Linked DNA regions of Homo sapiens: regions 2 and 3 are each linked to region 1. Evidence: promoter capture Hi-C in 16 types of primary human blood cells and fetal thymus (Javierre and others, 2016). All regions are on one chromosome and are shown on one strand. Each heading gives the region's core, a stretch centred on a gene start or on the middle of the fragment in contact. The rest is flanking DNA. Distances are from core to core; before and after follow the strand shown. Region 1 holds the start of COG2 (component of oligomeric golgi complex 2). Region 2 overlaps TAF5L (TATA-box binding protein associated factor 5 like). Region 3 holds the start of RHOU (ras homolog family member U).

Region 1 (2,762 bases), core at 105-2,604:
TGAGTTGATTCTGTACATTCTTTGAGACATCCTAATGAAGTTACACCTTTTAGTACAGTGGTCTAATAGGAATATCACTTACAAGAATAAGGTACATTATTCCTGGGTATAGATAAGTCCTACATACGAAAAATGATATGGTCACACTGGAGAAGATACAGATCTACTTTAAAAAAAAACAGCTTTGGAGATGTAATCTGAATGCAAATATTATCAAAAAGAGATAGGCTAATTAATCTAGAAAACATTATGTCACCAAGAAAGGCAGAGTAAGATTTCAACTCACTTGCTCAAAATTGTAGATGTCTACTAACCAGCTAAAACTTTTCGCTTTTTAACACTGAAAGCAGCTACTAAAAGGTGTCAAAAATCCTAGTCCTCAGGAAATTAAATAGAAACATTTTTTGAATGGCTTAAGTGCAGACCCAGAGGGATACACCAAGTAGGAGCAAAGCTCCTCCCAGCTCTCACTCAAAGCCTGGCCATTTTCAAGGCTGTGCCTGATGAACTTTATCATCAGTGAAGTGTTTTCAGTTTATATTTCTTTTCTCTAAGTTTATGACCTACAACTACCAACTTCTTCAAATGCATCACGTAAAAAGTAGAGCAACTTCTTTAAAGAGTAATGGTTTGCTTTGTCGTACTGCAATAGTCGGTAAGAATGTTCTAAGCTTCTAAATATCCCATTCTGGAAGCTTTAGCTGAATGTTAAGCAAAACTTCAGATTAAGTTCTTTTTCTTTCCGACCCGAGTCCCTAGGAAAGTACGTGGGCTTGGAGATTTATTCAACACACACTTAATGAGCTCCAAGGCCCCGGTCCACAAGCTTCTTTCCGACAAGGGGACTGGCAATCTGACTGCACTGCATGGTAACAGGAACGGGTAACAGTGGCTTTGACATGCAGCTCAAAACCACTTGCCCAGAACTTTCAGGCCTTTCCATGTAACACGCACGATTTTACAGAAGTGCTTTCTCCAGGCTGCACCCGCCAAACCTGACGCCAAAAGACTCATTGCGAAGTGCAGCGAGGTCTCGGCGGAGGACCTGACACTGAGCGTGCGCAGGCAGGAGCAGCCGACCGAAGAGACCGCCACAGAGGGCACAGGGCAGAGGCACCCTCATGGCCCGGCTCCGGGGAGCGGACGCCGCGCGCACCTTCATGAACTCGTCCTTGTCGAAGCAGAGCGTGTCCGGCCCCTTGGGCAGGTTCATCCTACTTTTCTCCATCCCGCCGGCCACCGCCTCTCAGTGCCAAGATCCAAGCGAGAAAACGCAGGAGGCTGCGCAGACCGACTCGGCGGCCGCGGCCACCGCCAGTTTCCACGGCACAGGGGGGTCCGCTTCCGCCAACATGGCAGCGCCCGCGCCGCGGCCAATGAACGACGGCACCGCAAGCCGGCCTGCGCCTGGCTCTGGCCAAGAGGGGCGCGGGGGCCGCCGCTGCTGCACGGGTAGGCCGTGCTGCCCTCATGTGGCGGAGGGCGGTACTGCAGCCTCGCGCGGGCTCCTGCAAGGCTGCCCACCTCCCTAGGAGGCGTGGCTGAGCTGCAGGGGTGGGTCAAAAGGGGTGAGCGGGTCTCCCTCCCACCCCCACCGTTTCTACTGGGAAAAATTGTCCTACAACGCTTTTCCAGTGCCTTCTACCCTGAGACTGCTCTGCTTCGTTATGCATGGCCAGAAGTTGGCCCTTTGGTTCTCAGGCCCGTTTTCCAGGTTGGACGTATCACCGTGGTCGCATTCTTCACCTCCCTGTGCGCGGTCACTGCCGCTGGTGGGCGCTAACGCCTCTATGGAGACCCCCGCCCTTAGCCTCTGTCCCCACAGAGAAGTGTAGCGTCTCCTCCACTGGGCTCCGTTACTGGGAACTCATAGGGAAGAAGGTGGTCAGCTAGGCGGCTTTGGGTCCTCTGAGTAGCTCCCTGCTCAACCTCGGTCTCCGTTCCAGGTGGGCAGCCTCTGAGCGCAACTTTGGGTCTTCAAGGTGCTTAAAGGAGTGCCTCGCTATCTGATTAAACACAGCAGACAAATACATGTGCATGCACATTTATTTTTAATTTCAACCAGGAATGGACAAATTTTTGTGTTGTGGCCAGTACTGGTGCAACCAAACCAATTTCTTAGACTGTCTTCCTCCTCCTCCCCCCACCCACCCCAATTTTATTCTGAGACGTTCTTCCTTTATCTCCTCCCTTGCTTTTTTCTCCTCTTGTCCCTTCCGCTAGCTGTAAATACCGTGGTCAAATGATGATGATTCATTTTTCTTCTTTTCTCCTTGACATTCGGATGATTCAAACCACAAACCTCACTTCACACTCTTCATTCTGCAAACCTTTCCTTCCCGCTTCTGTTGAGGAATCTAGGCCTCTCTTCCCAATTTTTCTCCTTGGAGATAAGATTAACGCCATGATGGCCTGTAAAAAGGAATGGGACAGCAGAGGGTAAGACCTCACCATGAGACTTTGTATTTCAAGTATCTCAACTAGAAAACTGGTCACTTAAAAAAAAATGTAGGCGTAGAATCCAAAACGCTCTACTCCCTAGCACTGGACCTAGCAGGCCCTGTTGAAGAGCCTATTTCCTGCCAGTATCTACAGAACAGATGAACAGGATAAGAGCCGGAAGCTAGCTGGAGGATCAAAATATTCTGCCAGAGGAGCGATTGGGAAAAGTACATCCTAAGTCCCTGTTATGTTTGTTTTGCTGGAGGAAATGAAAACCTCATTTTCTGTTTAATTTTTTGTTTTCTCTTGTTATGAAAATT
Region 2 (3,005 bases), core at 461-2,960, 1.0 Mb after region 1:
CTTGGCAGTTCCCTATCTGCCCGTGATTTCAAAAGGAAAATGGTAGTAGAGTTGGGCATTTTATTCCAAATCTCAAAGCTTAGACAGCACTTACAGAAAGCATGAAGAAACCAGGCAGCCTTCCCTCTTAAAAATTATCTTCAAGTATGTATTGTATATGCTTGATCACAAGCAAGGTTTTCCCCCAAAAGTCTCATGTTTGGGGCTCCCCTGTTACAGGGCACTCTTTCTCAGTCTATTTTGAACAACAAGGTGCTGTTTGGGAAGGACATAATGGGCTGGAACAACTGGAGCAACCTCAGCTGGTGCTAGTTTGGGATATTTATTCAATCTTACCAAATAAGTGAAACAAAAAAATAGGAAAGATTCAGTCATTAAGTCATTCTTCCTGATGGGGGTGGGGGGTATCACAAAGTGCAAGTGTTAAATGCAAAACATAATGTATGTATAATATATATACACACACATATCTGTATATCTATATATATCTATCTGTATAGATAGATAGATAGATAGATAGATAGATAGATAGATAGATAGATAGATGATGATGAATGAAAAGAAGTTCTGCTCACCCGAACAGGCATTGATGGCTTGGGTTGAGATTTCCAGCAGGAGTATATGGATTTAAGACGTGCTTTATTGTAACTGATTTAGTAGATGGGAAAGGTAAAGTGCTCTGGAAATGGAATTTGATGATTCATAGTGGCTTAATTCATCACAGACACTGGTGTTTAAGATATTCATGAACAGTTGGAGTGAATTTCTTTAGTGAATTAATATATTGCCTTATATATTTTAGATATGTGTAAATTAATAGAGATTATAGTTAGACATTTGATTTTCATCTGTAACCCTCAGAGTTTCTCTTTTTTTAAATTAAAGTTGACTAAAATGTTTTCTTTTTAATTTTCTTATTGGTATGGTAAGGTAGTCATAGGTTTGGGCTTACCTTTTAGTTGGACATTTTACAGAAAGAAATTAGCTGCTGTTTCTCCACTGAAGCAAATTGTCTTTTTCCTTCCTATTTTTTAATTTACAGAAGATTTGAAGAGTGTTGTATATTGTCAGTGTTTAGAAAACACTATAAAATACTTCCATTTATAATTGTTTAGTAGTCAAAGAAGATATCCTCCCAGTAAGGTGTATCAAGGTGGATGGGTATGTTAATAACTTCACAATGTTTGGCAATAATAAAAGGTAGCTGTGTTTTTAAAACAAAATACTAACTTTTGGAGACTTTGTCATTAGTAAGCAGAAGTGTTATGCAAAACTTTGTGAATTAACTTTTTTAAGCCAAGATGCTGATGCATTAGTTTCACCAGGTAATGTCATTCTGTAGAACTCTGTTGTCCAATACAGTAATCATTGGCCACTTATGACTACTTAAATTAAAATTAGTTAAAACAATTCAGTTCCTTAGTTGCACTAGTCATATTTTCATTGCCCAATTGCCCTGTGTGGCCAGTGACTACTGTTGTGAACAGTGCAGACTTACAACACCTCCGTCGTTTGCCAAAAGTCCTCTTGGACAGTACTGCTCTGGAATGAAAAATTGAAGATCATTCCATCCACTTTGAGACACACACACACACACACACACACACATAAATGTTTTAATGAAGCGTCTTCAAATCCTCATGTACTGCATTTGAATTCAGTTTCAGGAACAGTGATAAGCATGGGAAAACGTCTTATCCCTTATTTTGAGAACAGGACATCCTATTTCTGTCTGCAGTGGTGTTTGCAAATAGAGCATTTGTGAAAGTTTTCTTTATGTAGTCAAGCATAGTAAGTAATGTAAAGAGCCATTCTGTAGATTGTGCCACACTCTTCCATGTTAATAAGATTTTGTATAGAAAAGCAGTTTTTCTGTGCTGTAAAACAGTATTAAAGTAGAAATTCAAAAAGATCACGAGCTTAAAATAAACTCTCAAGAATTCCAAGAAGCTAGATAGCACTCACGTTATTTTTATGATGAGTTTCAAAGATAAGGCCTGTCCTCAGGGAACTCTCCATCTGTTTAGGGGAACTGAGGAAGAGTGATGGCAAGAGGGGACAACCTGCATGAGGGTTGGGGTGATTTAGGCTTGGTTGTAACATCATTAGATTTGTCATGTACTTTGGCTGCTTTTCAAAGGGCCATATGAGGAGGGCCTAAAGGTGGAAGAATATTGGAATAGTCCAGTTGAGAAGTGATTTGTAGAGTCGGGCATAGTGGCATACACCTGTAATCCTAGCTACCTGGGAGGCTGAGCTGGGAGGATCATGAGCCCAGAGGATGGAGACCAGCCTGGGCAATATAGCCAGACCACTTCTCTAAAGAGAGCGAGAAGCAATTTGTGCTGTCAAATAGCAAACAGTCAAGATGGGGTAGCAGAAATGGTTGAGTTGCACTAGCCGCAATTTTTTTTTTTTAAGTTGAGAGAGAATTCCCATTTAGAATAGGAGTTGGTGGCCTCTTTGAAGTAAGGGAGAGAGAGAACAGAATTTTATCATGACTGGCTTTTTGGTTGTTTTGTTTTCTTTTGTTTTGTTTTTGCTTTAATGGTGGATAGTGGCACCATTAAGCCGGCTAAGAAAACCGGGAGAAGGAAGAGGTATTGCAGGTGGAAATGTCTGTTAATTGACTGAGTTGAGGAAGGTGGTCTGACTGTAAGTCTTGCATGGTGGTGTGGTGAAGCCGGGAATGTGAAGAAGCAGTGGCAGACAGTAATGGGAGGGCAGAGCCACAAGAGAGGCTTGCAGTGGGAGGGACCAAGAGAGTTTCAAGTAGGAGGTGAGTTCAGCAGCATCACATCCAGCTGAGAGATCGTGAAGGGTGGTGCTGGAAAGTGACTGGTTAGATCAAAAAGTTAAGGAATCCCAAGTCTCAGTAGCCCACTGAGGTCAGAAGCAGGGTCAGCTGGCTGGGTGAGGAGACTGGTGAAGGTTTAGAATAGCGTAGGTGGAAGGCTGTAGGGTAAGTAGTTGATGAAACAAGACTTCTGGAACATCATGGAGGT
Region 3 (3,083 bases), core at 92-2,591, 1.9 Mb after region 1:
GTTAAGTGTTTCATACTAGTTTCTGTGAATTTTAACTTTTTCTTAAATTTCAAAAAGACCTGAATAGCAAGATAGAGAATTCCTTTCTCTTTGTATCTACCAAGGGAAATGGCATCGCACCCGGTACATAGGAGCTTTAAGTAGCTTAAAGGGATCCTGAAAAGATACCAACAATCAGAATCCGAGCCCATGTGGGCAGGGAAGGTGGTGGGGCTCAGAAGAAAGAAATGGTGTTTACTCTTCAGGTTTCATCCAAACCTAAGCCTTCACGAGGGCCGCTCGCGCTTTTTCACTAAATCAAGTGTTTTCCCGGCGTCTCCGCGGCTCTTTAAAGCGGAGACGCCCCTTGTGAGCTGAGCCGCCTAAAAGCAAAGGAGCGACGCTCAGGTAAAGGCACCTGCGCGTCACCTTCTGATTGAAACTCTGCAGCGGCGCCAGCGACGTCGCCCTCAGGAAACTTTGCTCTATGCAACAAACTGACCGGGCACCCTGAACTCAACCTGTTTCACTCCTACTTATCTGTTGCTTAAATTGTGAGATTTTTTTTTTTTTTTTTTTTGGCAAGGCTCTGACTGCCGCTCCGCCCTCCTCTCTCCAAGCCCACTCCGCCGTGGTCCTTTCGTGTTAGCTCCGCGCTTGCCCGGTCCCTGAGACTCAGGAAACGTCCTGCACTCCTCATTTGTCCGGCTTCCCAGCTGGAGCCGCGCCCGGGGCCCTGCAGCCCCCTTGGGAACCTCGCGACCCTCGCGCCACCTTCCTTCCCCTGGGTGGACCGCGGCCACGCGCCCCCGGCCCCGGCCCCCCGGCCAGCTCACCGGAGAAGTTGTCGAAGGCAGTAGGGATGTACTCGGTGGGGTAGCCGTTGGTGGTGTAGCTCACCACCAGGCTCGTCTTGCCCACCGCGCCGTCGCCGACCAGCACGCACTTGACGCCGCGCCCCTCGGCACCCCCCGCACGCCCCCGGCCCCCCGGCTCCCCAGGCCCGCGTCCCCCGCGTCCACCGCGCTCCCGACGCGGCGGCACCGGAGGCGCCTCGCAGCGGTCGGGGAACGCGGGGTCCCCCTGCTGCGGGGGCATCGATCCGCGAGCGCGGGCTTGCGGTCGCGGGCTAGCAGGGCCCGGCCCGACCGCCCCTCCGCCCCGGAGGGTTGCGGTAGGGAGGAGCTGTCACCGACAGCTGCGGGCGCGTCCCCGGCCCTGGAGAGTGGCGGTTCCGGGCCGCACGGCCAGTAGACAAAGGCGGCCAGGGAGGGTCGTGGCTCCGCGCTCCGGCGGCGCCAGCCGCTCTGCCCTGCGCTGTTGGAGGACAGCGGTCCGAGCGCCGTGGATCCCAAGCGCTCTGTCTCCGCCCGGCTTCCCGGCGACACGACGCGTGGGGGGCGGGCAGGCGGGCGGGCTGGCGGGGAGGGAAAAGAGGCGGGTCTGGCCGAGCGGCTCGGTCCCCGCGCCAAGACCACAGCGCCCCCCGCCTGCGCGCCGCGCGCCTGCACCCGCGCCCGAGGCGCCGCCGCGACCAGGCGGGGACTGCGAACACTGGCGCGGGAGGACCTGGAACACACGTTCCGGGGGACCCCGCGCACCCGGTCCGGGAAGCGACGCCCGAAGGAGCCGGGCCAGCCTCCGCAGCCTCCTCCCCAGCTCCCAAGAGGGTGACCACCGCGCGACTGGCCCGGGAGGTTCCGCTTTCTGGCGCCCACGCGAGCCAGGAAGCCTGAGCCGCCTCCTATTCACTCCGTGGAGCCCCCGGCTGGCCACGGCTCCACCCAGGGGGAAAAATGAAGTGTCCTGGAGGCCTGTCCTGCGAATGAGATTGAATTAACAGACAGCTTTTTTCCTTAAGTCTAACTGCAGCTGATCGTGTGATTTTTTCTCATTTTGAAGCAAAAGGATGCCAGCTCCATTGTGAATGCTCCTTTGACTTTGTCTTTCGGCATGCCGTGAACCTTTATACATGTATGCTCCAGAAATTTTTTTATACCCCCAATTCCTTCATTTACTTAAAGGTAATTCGGAGACATTAATATGTCTGAAAAAATATTCCGTTTCCCTTTGATTCATTTCTCTCTCTGCCTTCCTTCTACATGTGGTCAACAGTCTATTCAGAAAAAGGACGCCTCTTAGCCAAGTCAGAATACCAAGAGTCCTGGGGGTGTACAGCGTGGTGTGAGAAGGGCCACATATTATTAATACACATTGATACTAGTGGTAGTAAAAATAACAATAACAAATACTGAACTTTCATAATGTGTCAGATACTGTTGTAAGCACTCTTCAAGAACTAATTCTTTTAATCTTAACATTACTTACAGATGAGAACACCTGAGGCACAGAGATATTAAGTAACGTTTTGGGATTCCACAAGCTAGTAAGTGGCAATGCCAGGATCCAAACCCAAATAGTCTAGCCCCAGAGCCTGAGCTTCTAACCAAAATCCTGGAGGCAAAAATAAGTCAGTATGATAAACGTAATCTTGAACGTATGGCCATGGTCAGAATGCAGAGATGGATTTATCAAGAAGTTAGAAGCTTGAATCCAGGACCCCTGACTTGCAAAGGACACTTTCACATTGGAAGACCTAGCAATGTGTACACGTGGTAATATGTTTCTGTAAATTTTGAAAAAAAAAAAAGTATTTTAATCACCACCAGTTATGTTCACTGTCTTTTTAAACTGTAACTTACCCTCATATTGAGTGACTTTGAAGAGGCCATGAAGATTTTGGGGATCAGCCAAAGAAAGTGAAGTTGGGGAGACCCAAACAGGTTGTTTGGGTGTAATGGGATACAGAATCAGGATGAAGGTGAGATAAGGGGGATGTCAAGGATGCAAAATTTATGACAAATTGAGCATTCAGAGGCAATATCAAAAAACAACAAATTTAGAGGGCCCTTACTCTCAGGGTCAGGCAAGTGCCAATGTTAAGTTTTGAGCCTCAGGTACCTGACTTGCCTCTCCCTCGCCCTGGCTGTGATGACAGGATATATTTATGTGGTTTACAGTTCTCCTATGTAGATATGTTGTTGCTAGCCATCCAGGTATAGGAATGGCTACCACTGACATACCTATGACCCTCTGTGAGAGTC

The links. Contacts are between HindIII fragments. The CHiCAGO score rates a contact against its expected background, and 5 or more counts as called.
Region 2: a fragment that was not itself captured here is called in contact with the fragment with the promoter of COG2 in region 1 in 3 of 17 cell types (total CD8 T cells, naive CD4 T cells and total CD4 T cells); the score reaches 7.5 in total CD8 T cells.
Region 3: a contact is called between the fragment with the promoter of RHOU here and the fragment with the promoter of COG2 in region 1, in 3 of 17 cell types (monocytes, neutrophils and fetal thymus). The highest score is 8.4, in monocytes.

Annotation. Positions count from the first base shown.
Region 1 is chr1:230,641,073-230,643,834 of GRCh38, reverse strand. It overlaps COG2 (component of oligomeric golgi complex 2), which reads right to left and starts at 1,354. Exons shown (of 18, transcript NM_007357.3): 1 at 1,157-1,354. The coding sequence starts at 1,228. RefSeq lists an enhancer at 1,111-1,330 and a silencer at 1,421-1,560. The HindIII fragment of the contact is 12,366 bases long and covers 829-2,762 here.
Region 2 is chr1:229,619,560-229,622,564 of GRCh38, reverse strand. All of the region lies in intron 1 of TAF5L (TATA-box binding protein associated factor 5 like), which reads left to right. Among named protein-coding and RNA genes, the nearest start is that of TAF5L, 5.1 kb to the left of the region's middle. The HindIII fragment of the contact is 3,259 bases long and covers 81-3,005 here.
Region 3 is chr1:228,733,737-228,736,819 of GRCh38, reverse strand. RHOU (ras homolog family member U) reads right to left here and starts at 1,341. Exons shown (of 3, transcript NM_021205.6): 1 at 816-1,341. The coding sequence starts at 1,077. The HindIII fragment of the contact is 4,915 bases long and covers 1-2,527 here.